Linked DNA regions of Homo sapiens: all the other regions are linked to region 1. The links are contacts of gene promoters, found by promoter capture Hi-C in human tissues and cell types (Jung and others, 2019). All regions are on one chromosome and are shown on one strand. The core of a region is centred on a gene start or on the middle of the fragment in contact, and the rest is flanking DNA. Distances in the headings are between cores, read along the strand shown.

The links. Contacts are between HindIII fragments. The study calls those that stand out against the background at their distance.
Region 2: a contact is called between a fragment that was not itself captured here and the fragment with the promoter of LRIG2 in region 1, in 1 of the 25 tissues and cell types used here (aorta).
Region 3: the fragment with the promoter of RSBN1 here is called in contact with the fragment with the promoter of LRIG2 in region 1 in 1 of the 25 tissues and cell types used here (lymphoblastoid cells).
Region 4: a contact is called between a fragment that was not itself captured here and the fragment with the promoter of LRIG2 in region 1, in 1 of the 25 tissues and cell types used here (spleen).

The regions. Positions count from the first base shown.
Region 1 is chr1:113,071,259-113,074,490 of GRCh38, reverse strand. LRIG2 (leucine rich repeats and immunoglobulin like domains 2) reads right to left here and starts at 1,293. Exons shown (of 18, transcript NM_014813.3): 1 at 846-1,293. The coding sequence starts at 1,084. It overlaps LRIG2-DT (LRIG2 divergent transcript), which reads left to right and starts at 1,389. Exons shown (of 3, transcript NR_103777.1): 1 at 1,389-1,552. RefSeq lists enhancers at 124-173, 773-832, 449-980, 1,013-1,322, 981-1,514 and 1 more. The HindIII fragment of the contact is 29,814 bases long and covers 1-3,232 here.
Region 2 is chr1:113,748,066-113,751,114 of GRCh38, reverse strand. The region is part of intron 3 of PHTF1 (putative homeodomain transcription factor 1); the gene reads left to right. Among named protein-coding and RNA genes, the nearest start is that of PHTF1, 9.9 kb to the left of the region's middle. RefSeq lists a silencer at 1,394-1,688. The HindIII fragment of the contact is 3,903 bases long and covers 1-3,049 here.
Region 3 is chr1:113,810,935-113,814,076 of GRCh38, reverse strand. RSBN1 (round spermatid basic protein 1) reads left to right here and starts at 1,601. Exons shown (of 7, transcript NM_018364.5): 1 at 1,601-2,367. The coding sequence starts at 1,665. AP4B1-AS1 (AP4B1 antisense RNA 1) reads right to left here and starts at 1,465. Exons shown (of 5, transcript NR_125965.1): 1 at 1,252-1,465. It overlaps PTPN22 (protein tyrosine phosphatase non-receptor type 22), which reads left to right. Exons shown (of 21, transcript NM_015967.8): 21 at 1-266. RefSeq lists enhancers at 1,201-1,730, 1,467-1,856, 1,731-2,260, 2,237-2,326, 2,477-2,536 and 1 more. The HindIII fragment of the contact is 11,215 bases long and covers 1-3,142 here.
Region 4 is chr1:113,690,297-113,693,585 of GRCh38, reverse strand. No RefSeq gene overlaps it. Among named protein-coding and RNA genes, the nearest start is that of PHTF1, 68 kb to the left of the region's middle. The HindIII fragment of the contact is 3,895 bases long and covers 1-3,289 here.

The sequences.
Region 1 (3,232 bases), core at 44-2,543:
TCCTAATACCACCAGGCTGACTCAGACTAAGGAGCCCTCCAAGTTCCACTGTCTAATAAAGACCTGTCAAAGTGAAAACTCAACAGTGGAAACTCCAGAATTCATTCAACCGTTGTACCTGCTTTACCTACATAAATAAGCAGAACTGATTTTTGGGTTCTTTGCCACAAGAAGATGCGCTGAAAACAAAGCATCAAATGGTTCTGCAAAAAATACTCCTCCTCTTTACAGTGAAGTTTAAATTAGATCAAGAATGCTACTTACAAAGATATTCTGAATTACAGGATCTCCTGATTCATCATAATGAACTTTTCAACCCTGTTAAGTATCAAAACTGCAGCACAAAATCAGCCAACATGCGAACTAAGGACTAAAGACAGTTCATAGGTCTTTGGCGATTGTGATTATAAAATCACGTGCCTGAGGACCACTAAGTCTGAGGTACACACCAAATCATGCAGCTCAAGATAAGCAGAAAGCACTGTTCCGTGCTCAACCCACCCCCCGCCCCACCAACCATCCAAAGTCAATGCTGGTGCCCAGGACCCGTGAGTCCTTACCATTAAATATGCCCGCCCCATTTCCTCCCCAGTTGAGGAAATCACAGACTCCTTGGCCCCAAGAATCTTAACCCTCGTCTTCATACAATTCTCCAGAAACCTTAACACCGGCTTTTTTAGGCTCCCACCACCTAAAACAAAGTTCATAAAATCCTGACGGCAGTTTCCTTCAGAGCTTAGGCTCTCGACCACACCCTCCGACCAGGCCTGTCTCCCTCCTGCCTGCCCCCTGTAGAGGGAAGGCTCCCCCTCCTTTTGGTCACTCTGCCTGGCCGCTCTACTCACAGGATAGCGGTGTCGGGGGGCAGCAAGCCCGACAGCGCCCTCCAGCTCGGTGCGGGCAATTTCCTGCGACTGCAGTCCAGGAGAGGAATGCGGCAGGAGCAGGGCGCGGGGCAGAGACCTGCTCCGGCGGCGGGCAACAGGAGGAGAGCGGTCTGGGCAATGAAGAGTAACCGAGAAAGCACTCTAGATCGACACCCCAGCAACTGCTCCTCCGGGACGCCTAGGGGCGCCGGCGCCATTTTCCCCCTCGACCTGGACGTGGCCTAGAAGAGCTGCCTGCTAGAAAAGGAGGATCGGCGGAGAAGCTCAGCAGAGATGCTCGGTGGCTGCACTGTCTCCCGAAGCCCCGGCTGAAGGCTGTACCATCTAAAGGCATGCAAGGAGCAGACGCAGCGCGACAGCGGGGTCGACGGCCTGGGACACACGGCCTGACGGACACCTCTCGTCCGCCCCTCCCCACGGCGCAACGTCCTCACGCACAGGGGCCAGCCAATCGGTGCCATAAGATGAGGTTGCGCCCGGGGCGGAACTCAGTGAGGGGCGGGGCCAGACGCAGCCGAGTATCTTGAGGAGAAGGACTTTAAAGCGTTCAGGGATTTTAGCTGCCGCTGTGGAGTTCCGCCGCTGTTCTTCCGCTGGAGGGCGCAGTAGTTCCTTAAGAGGGAATGGTGCGGCGAATAGCTGTGAGTTCAAAGTCCTGACTACAGGTATATCTACTGTAGTAGAAAAGGATCTTTTATTTGCTCTGGGCTTTAAGAAAGGGGAGTGGCAGAAGGGCTGCCTTCCAAGTCGCACACACGAATGGGTCACGGGAGCTTCTATCCTGGCTTTGGCCAGATCGGCCTCCAGAGCCGAGCTCGAGCCTCTTCTGCCCCCTGCTGCTTGGCTGTAGCCCCTGCTCTTCTGCAAGTAGGCGGCAACTGCCATTTGCATAAGATCAATATCACTCTCTGTTAATGGCCTTGTAAGCTCCTGAAGGCAGAGGCCCTGTTTCTTCATCGGTGCACCTCCACCTTTTGTTCTAGCTTGGAGTTCAATAAATTTTGGTGGGACTGCACCTGCATGTCTATATAAAGGAAATACCCTTCTCTTTGGAGGGATGCTGTCAAGGTCACTCTCAGAAAAGCAAGCGAGACAAGAGGGTGTTGAGCAGTCAACAAAGCAAAGACTGGATGTGAGGAAATTTATTTCTCCTAAAGCAGAGGCTATGGAAAACTTACTAGGAACAGTGAAGTCTGGCCATCTTATGCTCATTCAGCCATCCAAGGTTGTAAATAAGACTTTGAGAATAATAGTGATGGTTCACTTATACGTAGTGAACTTTTCAAAGGGCGTTTGCATCTGTTATCTTGTTTGCTCCTTCAGTGACTGTGACATTGGCAAGACAATTATTGCTGATGATGCAACAAGCCCCAAGAGGTTAAACCAAGTTACTCTTGAGGCAGGGGCAGGTTCGACATTAACATGGGTTTTCTGACATAAATTGAAAATCTGAGCAGGTTAAAAAGAATGATAATGCCTAGGTTAGGGTTCTCATAGAAAGTAACTGAAAGCAATCTTTCCCATGGCAGATTATGGAGTCATAATTATGTTTTTAAAAACCTTTTTCTGTTTTTTTTTTTTAATATTGAAGTATATATTGGAAACAAGGCCATATCCAATGCTACAGTCCAAACCAAACTTTTAAAGCCAAGACAGCGGAATGAAACTTACTCTTAGCCTTCTTCCCTTAGCTGTTGAGCAGACTTAACAAACTCTGGTAAGAAATCCGGCATAGGCAGGAACCTTACAAAAAAAAAAAGGAGGCAGTTTAGTTCCTTTCTACATTATAGTTTCAGAGCTTTCCTATGAAACTATACCAAATGGGGCCATTAGAAATTAATGCTCTCTAACCTGTATCCTCCGCAGTAAGTGGCTCACTGCAATCTCTGCCTGCCGTATTCAAGCGATTCTCCTGCCTCAGCCTGCCTAGTAGCTGGGACTACAGGTGTGCACCACCATGCCCGGCTAATTTTTGTATTTTTAGTAGAGACGGGGTTTTGCCTTTTTGGCCAGGCTGGTCTCGAACTCCTGACCTCAGGTGATCCACCCACCTCGGGCTCTCAAAGTGCTGGGATTACAGGCATGAGCCACTGTGACTGGCCACAAATACACGTTTTTTTTGTTTTTTTTGTTTTTTTTGTTTTTTTTTTGAGACAAAATTTCATTATTGTTGCCCAGGCTGGAGTGCAATGGCACAATCTCGGCTCACCGCAACCTCCGCCTCCTGGATTCAAGCGATTCTCCTGCCTCAGCCTCCTGAGTAGCTGGGATTACAGTCATGCGCCACCACGCCCAGCTAATTTTGTAGTTTTAGTAGAGATGGGGTTTCTCCATGTTGGTCAGGC
Region 2 (3,049 bases), core at 332-2,831, 680 kb before region 1:
AAATATTTTATATTTTGTAGAGACAAGGTCTCACCACATTGCCTAGGCTGGTCTTGAACTCCTGGGCTTAAGCAGTTCTCCCTCCCTGGCCTCCCAAAGTGCTGGGATTACAGATGTAAGCCACCACACCCAGCCCTAAAATTTTTTAATTGAGAGAATATATTAAATCTAATGTCTAATATTATTTTCAGTGATGGAGTGTAACTTAGTCCTCCAAAATAAGCCTAAAATAAGAATCTCCCCTTTTACTAATCTTTTTTTTTTTTTTTTGGAGACAGAGTCCTGCTCTGTTGCCCAGGCTGGAGTGCAGTGCTCACAGCAACTTCCGCCTCCCAGGTTCAAGTGATTCTCCTGCCTCAGCCTCCCGAGTGGCTGGGATTACAGGCGCACGCCACCATGCCCAGCTAATTTTTGTATTTTTGGTAGAGGTGGGGTTTCACCATGTTGGCCAGGATGGCTCGATCTCTTGATTTCATGATCTGCCTGCCTTGGCCTCCCAAAGTGCTGGGATTACAGGCGTGAGCCACCACGCCTGGCCCCTTTTACTACTCTTTAGCATACTGTTTGAGATACATTTGCTAAGATGAGCAAAACATTCTAATTAATATTAATTAATATTATCTTTTCTTTTTTGTGTGTTTTATTTTTAAAAATTAATATTAGAGTGAACAAAAATCACTGTTTGAAGATAGCATGGTTTTGTATTTAGAGAATAAAAAAGGCTAATCAGAAGCACAGAGACTACTTCAGCTGTATTTATAATGTTTTATTTAAGCAGGATGGTGGCCATATGATAGATGACACTGACACTCCTCATTAAAGATGACAGTTTGAGGCCATGCGTGGTCGCTCACGCCTATAATCCCAGCACTCTGGGAAGCCGAGGTTTTTGCTCGAGGCCGGGAGTTTGGGACCAGCCTGGGCAACATAGCTCTACAAAAAGATAAAAAAATTAGCTGGGTGTGGTGGGCATGTGCCTGTAGTCCCAGATACTGGGGAAGCTGGTTGGGGGGGATCGCCTGAGCCCAGGAGTTTGAGGCTGTGGTGTGCTATGATTGTGCCACTGCACTCTAGACGGGGTGACAGAGCAAGACCCTGTCCTGAAAAAAAAACAAAAACAAAACAAAACCCAAAAAATGGTAGTTCAAATACATGCACTAATCTCTCCTGAAACCTCTTTAAAAGTACAACAGATAAGAAAAAATCATGGCAGCCTGCAAGGACTTAAAGAATGGAAGAAGAGACTACAGTAAATGAGAGCTATCAATACAATTTCGAAGGTTGGAAAATGAAAGAAGTAAAACTCTTAAGTGCCTGCAATAGGGAAAGCCAATAGGAAACAAGTAAAACCCCTGTAATTAACTTCTGAAAGACTCAGGAATTAGATGTATCAGGTATAATCTGTAGGAGTGAGAAAGAACTAAAGACAGGATTGTTTGAACATGTGTATAAGGGATAATAGATCTACCCCCAGATCTTCCTTATTCCATGTAGCCACATAGTTACCCTTATCTTCCTCTGACAGAAGACCGGGTTGAAGCTTGCTCTCTGGAGAGGCTGAGCCAGAGAAGTTCTGGATTCTGGAAGACCAGAAACAAATCAGAGTCTGGTGAGATGCTGCACTAATAATGGGGATTAAGTGAAAGTCTGGTCGTCAGATTTATAATCTGCAAACAGAAGACTGGAATTTCTTTTCGTCAAAACTGAGTAACCAAAGAGAACCTAAGGATACTGAAAAGTGAAATGACTGGCCACGCCTCTATAGTGAGGTCCACTATTCAAAATGCTTCACGCATTGCACACTGAGCTTGCATTCAGTGTGTTAGTGACTGTTAATTATAAATGGATAATTAAAGATCATCAAATATTTAAGACCTAAAGAAAAAGAAGAAAAGAGAAAAGAAGCAATGCAGGAATCATAAAAACAGTGTTTTTAAAGATATAATTACTACCTTTAAAGAACTGGATACTATAAAAAGACTGAGATATCTTCAGGACATCTATTGTATAACATTGGTGACTATAGTTAGTATGTTGTATTCTTGAAAAATGCTAAGAGAGTGGATATTAAGTGTTCTCACCACACAAATAATAACCATGTGAGGTAATGTATATATTAATTTAGTCATTCTACAGTGTATATCCACTTCAGAATATGTTGTACACACTGAATACATAGAATATTATCTGTCAATTTAAAAATTAAGAATGCTTAAAAAATAGACTATAGATTAGAAAGTGAGAAGACTAGAAAATAAAAATAATCAGAATAAATTCAGGGGTGGCTGGGTACAGTGGCTCACGCCTGTAATCTCAGCACTTTGGGAGGCCGAGGCTGATCGCTTGAGCCCAGGAGTTCAAGATTAGCTTGGGCAACATGGTGATACCCTGTCTTTACAAAAAATACAAAAAAATTAGCTGGGCTTGGCGTTGCATGCCTGTAGTCCCAGCTACTTAGGAGGCCGAGGTGGGAGATCATCTGAGCCTGGGAAGTCGAAGCTGCAGTGAGCCGTGATTGCACCACTGCACTCCAGCCTGGGTGACAGAGTGGGACCCTGTCTCAAAAATAAACACATAAATAAATAAAAATTAAAATAAATTCAGTGGAAAAGTTAGAAGATAAATTTGAGACCATTTCCCAGAAAAGTAGTATAAAAATGAACAACAAAAAAGAAAATAGCAAAGTGAGTGCAATTCATGCAGGAAATGTAATATCCAACTAATAGATGTTCCAGAAAAAGGAAATACATGGAGAAGAAGAAATTAATAAATAATTTTAAAAATTGCCCCAGAAATGCAGTACTGTGTATGTATTTCCAGATTAAAAGGATCTTTTCGTTGGGCATGGTGGCTCACGCCTGTAATCCTAGCACTTTGGGAGGCTGAGGCAAGAGGATCCCTTGAACTCAGGAGTTTGAGACCAGCCTGGGCAACAAAGTGAGATCCTATCTCTACAATAAAATTTAAAAATCAGCTGGGTGTAGTGGTGTGTGCCTGTAGTCGCAGCTACTCAGACGGCTGAGGTGAAAGGGTCCTTTGAGCCTGGGAG
Region 3 (3,142 bases), core at 352-2,851, 740 kb before region 1:
TCTAATTTTATGTAGTAAATAAATTGGCAGGTAATTGTTTTTACAAAGAATCCACCTGACTTCCCCTAATGCATTAAAAATATTTTTATTTAAATAACTTTATTTATAACTTTTAGAAACATGTAGTATTGTTTAAACATCATTTGTTCTTCAGTATTTTTCATTTGGAAGTCCAATAGGGCAAATTGAATGAAGTATTATTATCTGTCTCTTGTAGTACAATGTATCCAACAGACACTCAATAAACTTTTTGGTTGTTAAACTGACTTCATTGCAGTAGTGTTTAGGTAATACTTCTCCAGAAACTAGTGAAATCAAACCACAGTAATTTTATCTGCTGAGTATATATCATTGTAATCAATTACTTCCAAATGTCTTTATCAATAAACAAATATACTAAAAGAATTCTAGGTAACCATGAGTTACTTAGGGCACCATGAGTGCATCTGTAGACCCAGCTACTCATTCCTTGAGCCCAGGAGTTGGAGGCCAGCCTGGTCAACAGAGCGAGACCTTGTCTCTTTTTTTTAAGAGTCAGGGTCTAGATCTGTCACCCAGGCCAGAGTGCAGTGGTGCGACCACTCCTCCCACCTTAGCCTCACGAGTACCTGGGACTACAGGCGCGTGTCACGACACCCAGATAATTTAAAAAATACTTTTGTAGGGACAGAGGCTCACTATGTTACCAACGCTGATCTGGAACTCCTGGCCTCATGCAATCCTCCCGCCTCGGCCTCCCAAAGCTCTGGGATTACCGGCCTGAGACACCGAGCCCCGCCCCGCCCGTCTCTAAATAAATACTTAAAAGAACCCCAGGTAAAAGCTAAAGCGAGGATGAAATTCTAAATGAATTTCTGAGCAACAACTATCCGTAGTGAGCAGTGATGATTTTTGGTGTGTTCTCCGGTAGGCACACTTTTCAAATTTATGCAATCTTATCCTTAAGATTTGAAAAAAAAAAACTTATAAAAAATCTTAAACGTGGTTTTCCATCTACAATTTTTCGCAACTGTAGGGATATATTCAAAATAAATGCTGGACATTTCCAGGCATTAGAGGGGATGTGGCCGGATGGCGAGGAGGGGCCGTCCTCACCAGGACTCCAAGCAGTTCTCGCACCTGACTTCGTAGGCCTGTAGTTGTAACCATAGCAATGCCCCAGATGCTTGAAAACATTTCTGAATTGCGGCCCTATCATATTTTTACAGCAAAACCACCCTTATTTTACATATTACTAAATCCTCTTTTCACCTTCATTTCATCCCTCGTCAAAGTTAAAAGGATGAAGATTCTTTTATCTCACAAAGGTTATGAGAGAAATATTAAATTTAAAATCACTGTGGAGACCACCTCCTCCGTGTAAAATGAGGAAGGGTCACAGGAAGATGATAATGGGAACGCGCCGCCAGACTCTGAAAGCCATTAACATTGTTTCGGCCGTTAGGGCGGTTGGCGGCAACTCACCGCCCAGCGGCGGTTGCGTCGCAGCCAGAAGCGTGACTTCGCGCACGCTCCCTTTCCACTCCTCCACTCAGAGCCGGGGACGCGGCGGGGGCGCGGCGGAACTACAGCTCCCATGACGCTTTGCGCGGCATAGGGTGCTTTACAATAGAAGCTCGGTTGGAGAGGCCTGCGGAGAAAAGCTGGGAACGGCCGCTTCCGGCATGTTCATCTCTGGACGAAGAACGGCCGACAAGTGGAGGGCGGAGGAGAGACTCCAATGCCCAGCGGGCAGTGCGCGGGCGGCGCTTGCGCGATGCGCGGACGGGGGGGCGGTCGGGCCATTTAAATGTGTGTTTGTGGGTGAAATGGCTGCGCAGGTCGGAGCGGTGCGCGTAGTACGGGCGGTGGCGGCGCAGGAGGAGCCGGACAAAGAGGGGAAGGAGAAACCTCATGCTGGGGTCTCCCCGCGGGGAGTTAAACGGCAGCGCCGATCTAGCAGTGGGGGGTCTCAGGAGAAGCGGGGGCGGCCGAGCCAGGAGCCCCCTCTCGCTCCCCCTCACCGGCGGCGTCGCAGCCGCCAACATCCTGGGCCGCTGCCGCCAACGAATGCAGCCCCAACTGTCCCAGGCCCTGTTGAGCCTCTTCTCCTGCCGCCTCCGCCGCCACCTTCGCTGGCACCCGCCGGGCCCGCTGTCGCTGCCCCTCTCCCGGCCCCAAGCACCTCGGCCCTCTTCACCTTCTCGCCTCTGACGGTGAGCGCGGCCGGGCCCAAGCATAAGGGCCACAAGGAGCGGCACAAGCACCATCACCACCGCGGCCCCGATGGTGATCCCAGCTCCTGCGGAACCGATCTCAAGCACAAGGACAAGCAGGAAAACGGCGAGAGGACTGGAGGGGTGCCTCTGATCAAAGCCCCCAAGAGAGGTGAGAGCAGGCAAACTGCCCGGCTTGGGTTCTAGGTCTCTCTCAGTTCCGATATCCCGCATCTTTAGGACTGAAAGACGCCAAACCCCTGCTTACCTTCTGCTGCTGTACTTCTCTAAGCTCACTGGGGTGGACCCTGGATTTCAGATCGTTGACACGGTTTGATCTAACTACTTGAGGCTTCTCGCTCCGAGGCCGAGCTGTCAGTTGCTAATCCCTTTACCGGTCCCCCGGAGCCTCTCAGCATTTGTTTTCAAATTCTGCAAGGTTTCCGCGCCGCGTTAGATTAGTAGGTGGGGTACTAAAAAATGCCTTTCCAAAGAAAAGGCATGTTCCTAAAATCCCTTCTCCTTGTTTTGCTTGCTGGAGAGCTTTAGTTATCTGCTCTCCCTTGCTCCAGAATAGTCAGGGGTATGGTTCCAGTCTTTCAGGAGGGAATTCATATAAAGGTTACACGACTCACTGGTTGACTTAGCTTCTGCAAGGTAAAATATCAGACGCAGTTTATCTTGGTTCTTTTTAATCTAGAGGTAAAAATCATTTTAAAGTTTTCATATTAGCTATTTAAATTCTTAGAATAGGCATGTGGAAGGTTTTCTCTACCCTTTGATACTAGGAAATAGGACCAACAGTGCCTCTGAAAAGTGGGAATTTGTGCAGTAGATAGTAGAGGCCGGAATTTCAGTTGCATTTGATTCTGTCTAGCACACTTTGTGGATCTGTTAATTCCAATAGCCCTCAAGAATATTTTACTAGAAAATGTCAGAGTATCCAA
Region 4 (3,289 bases), core at 520-3,019, 620 kb before region 1:
CACAGCTACTAGGTTAAACCTCCTTCACTCTCACTTGGACTACTGTGTGACCCACTGGTCTGTTTCCATTCTTGTCTCCTACAGTTGGTTTTTCATAGCCACATGAATGAGCCTCAAAATTTGGAAACTAACATTGTTCCTACTTAAACCTTTCCTAGCTTTCTCTTTGGTGGCTTCCAAGGCCCTTCATTATCATGCTTACCTTGCCTTCCAGCTTCACCTCCTTTACTTTACAGCCTCACTCCTTTACCTCACTACCACACTGACCTCCCTCTGCTCTTCTATTATTCCAGGTTCTTTCTCATATCAGGCTTGTGCAAGCTTGTTTCATCTGCCTGGAATATATTTTCTTAGGTTCATCTCTGGCTGGCTGCTGCTTATCTCTCAGCTGTCAGCTGTCAGTTCCTTAGAGGGCCTTCTCTGATGACCCTAGTTAAAGTAGTTACCCATTTTATCCATTATCAGTTATATCGCCTTATTGATTTCCTTCATGGCACTTACCACAATTTTATCGTGTTTATTTTTTGACTGTCTGTCGTTTCCTTTCCCGCTACAGTGTAAGTCCCTTGAAGGCAGAGACTTCTTCTTGTCCCCAGAACATATAATAGGTGTTCAATAAAAATGTGTTGAATGAAGAATAGACCTCAAGTAATTTACCATTTGTGTAGTTTTTTTTTCTGTTAGGATAGAAGGGTCATACATTTGATTCTTGAGCAATGCAGGGGTTAGGGGCACTATCCTCCTTTCCTGTAAAAAATTCATGTGTAACTCTGATGCCCCCAAAACTTAATAGCTTACAGTTGACTGGGAGTCTTGCCAGTAACACAAACAATCAACACATTTTGTATGTTATTTGTATTATATACTGTATTCTTAAAGTGAGCTAGACAAAAGACAAATGTTATAAAGAAAATCCTAAGAAAGAGAAAGCATATTTTCCATTCATTAAGGAGAAGTGGATCATCATAAAAGTCTTCCTCTTTGTCATCTTCACATTGAGTAGACTGAGGAGGAAGAGGAGCGGTTGGTCTTGCTGAGTCAGGGGTGGCACAGGTGGAAGGGGAAGCACAAGAGGCAGTCACACTTGATCTAACTTTACAGAAATACATTGTAATTGGACTTTTTGCTTTTTTCATTTCTCTAAAAATGTTTCTATATGGTACCAATCGTTCTTCTACTGTTTGCTTTAGTTTCAGTGTCCATATCATAGAAGAGTCCATGTTGTAAAAGAAGTCAAAAGCAGCCTTGAATAATTGGAACCCTTCTGCCAGATTGTCTTACATCATCTTGTTCTTTGGCATTGCTTCTAAGTTTTCTTCCTCATCATCTTGCACTGATTTGGAAGCACTCGTCTCCATCAACAAGTCATCTGTTAATTCCTATGGTGTGGGGTTTATTAGCTCCTGAATTTCTCTTGAAACCCTTCACACCCCACTTTTTTTGCCACATCCACAATCTCTTTCATGATTTCCTTGATTGACTCTTTTGTAAATCCTATGAAGTTATGCACAACATCTGCACAGGTTTCTCCAGCCAGAATTTATTGTTTTGGGCTTGTTGGCTTTCACAGCTTTTTCTGTAACAATGATGGCATTTTCAGTGGCATGGCATAATCATTCCTTCCAGACTTTCATAATGTTCTCTCTTGGGGTTCTCTTTCACAGTATTGACAGTCCTTTCCAGAGTACTGTGTGTAATGGATCTAAAAAGTCCTTATGACCCCCTTATTCCTGAATTAAAGATGTTGTGTTTGGGAGCACAGAGACCACTTCATCGCTTTGGTGTTGAATTTATGGGGTTTTAGGTGGCCAGGGGCATTGTCCAGTATCAAAAGAACTTTCAAAGGTAGTGTCTTACTAGCAAGGTACTTCCTGACTTTAGGGACAAAGCATTGACAGAACCAATCCAGAAAAAGGGTTCTCATTGTCTAGGACTTCTTGGTATACAACCAAAAGACTGTCAGCTGGTGTTTTTTTTTCTTCTTCTTCTTCAAGGCTTGGGGGTTAGCAGGTTTACAGATATGTGTAGTCCTGATCGTAAACACAACTGCATTTGCACAGTATTAGCTTATCCTTTCCTGCCTAAATCATGGTGCTTGCTTCTCTTTCTAATAAATTTCCTTTGTGGCATTATTTCCCAGAATAGGCACTTTCTTCTGCATTAAAAACCTGTTAAGGCAGATATCTTTTCTTCTCAGTTATCTTCTGAATGGCATCTGTGAACTCGTCTGCTGCTTCTTCATCAGCAAATCTACTTTCCTTTTGCTTTGTCATATAACTTTGCTTTTTCTTGAATCACATTGGAATCTATAGATATGCCTTAGAGCACTCCCATACCCACATGAAGCTGCATTTTAAATGCAAGTTAAAAGCTATTTCACAAAAAGTGCAAGGTTTTCATGCCTGGTGGCATAACTGCAGCAAAAGCTTCATGAGTTTTTCTTTTCTTTCCTCCCTCCCTCCCTCCCTCCCTCCCTCCCTCCCTCCCTCCCTTCCTTCCGTCCTTCTTTCTTCTCTTTCCTTCTTTCTTTTACAATGGTCCTTATGCTGGACTCATTTATCTTGAAATGGTGGGCAACCACAGACCCCAATCTATGGTATCAAGCAACTCAACTTTTTCTTGTAATGTCATGACTCTTCTGTGCTTCTTGGGAGCACTTCTATGACTGGTGGTGCTTCATATGGGTCCTGCAGTTTTTATGTCCTCAAGGTTTACAGTATTGCACTAACCATGAAAAATATGCAAGAACCGCAAGGGATCACTTTTTACTGTGATCCACGGTTTATGGAGAGATGAACTGCTCACACAGAGATGATTAGCATCACATGGTGTTTTAAACAGATCTTTTGACACTTGAGTTCACCACAATAGCAACAGGAGGTAACTACAAAATAATTATAGTAGCTCAGTATGTACTACAGTTAATTTTATGCAGTTATGATTTAATACTGTATCTTTGTTTACATTTCTCTCAACCGTGAATGGTGCCATGTACAGTTTGTTTGTATGTTTTTATAAATTTTAACTTTTTATAATAGATTTGTGTGTATTTTATAGTAAATGATAAAATAGGCTAGTATCTATATAACTTTTTAATTTTTCTATATTTCTAGGCTACATGGTTTGTTTTTTCAAATTGCCACAAATCTCAAAAAAATTTTCCAATATACTTACAGAAAAAGGCCTGTATATAAGTGGACCCACACCATTCAAACCCATGTTGTTCAAGGATCAACTGTAATTTCATGGTTCTCCCACCTTCAGTGCCTCATTTATCCCTGTATAATAA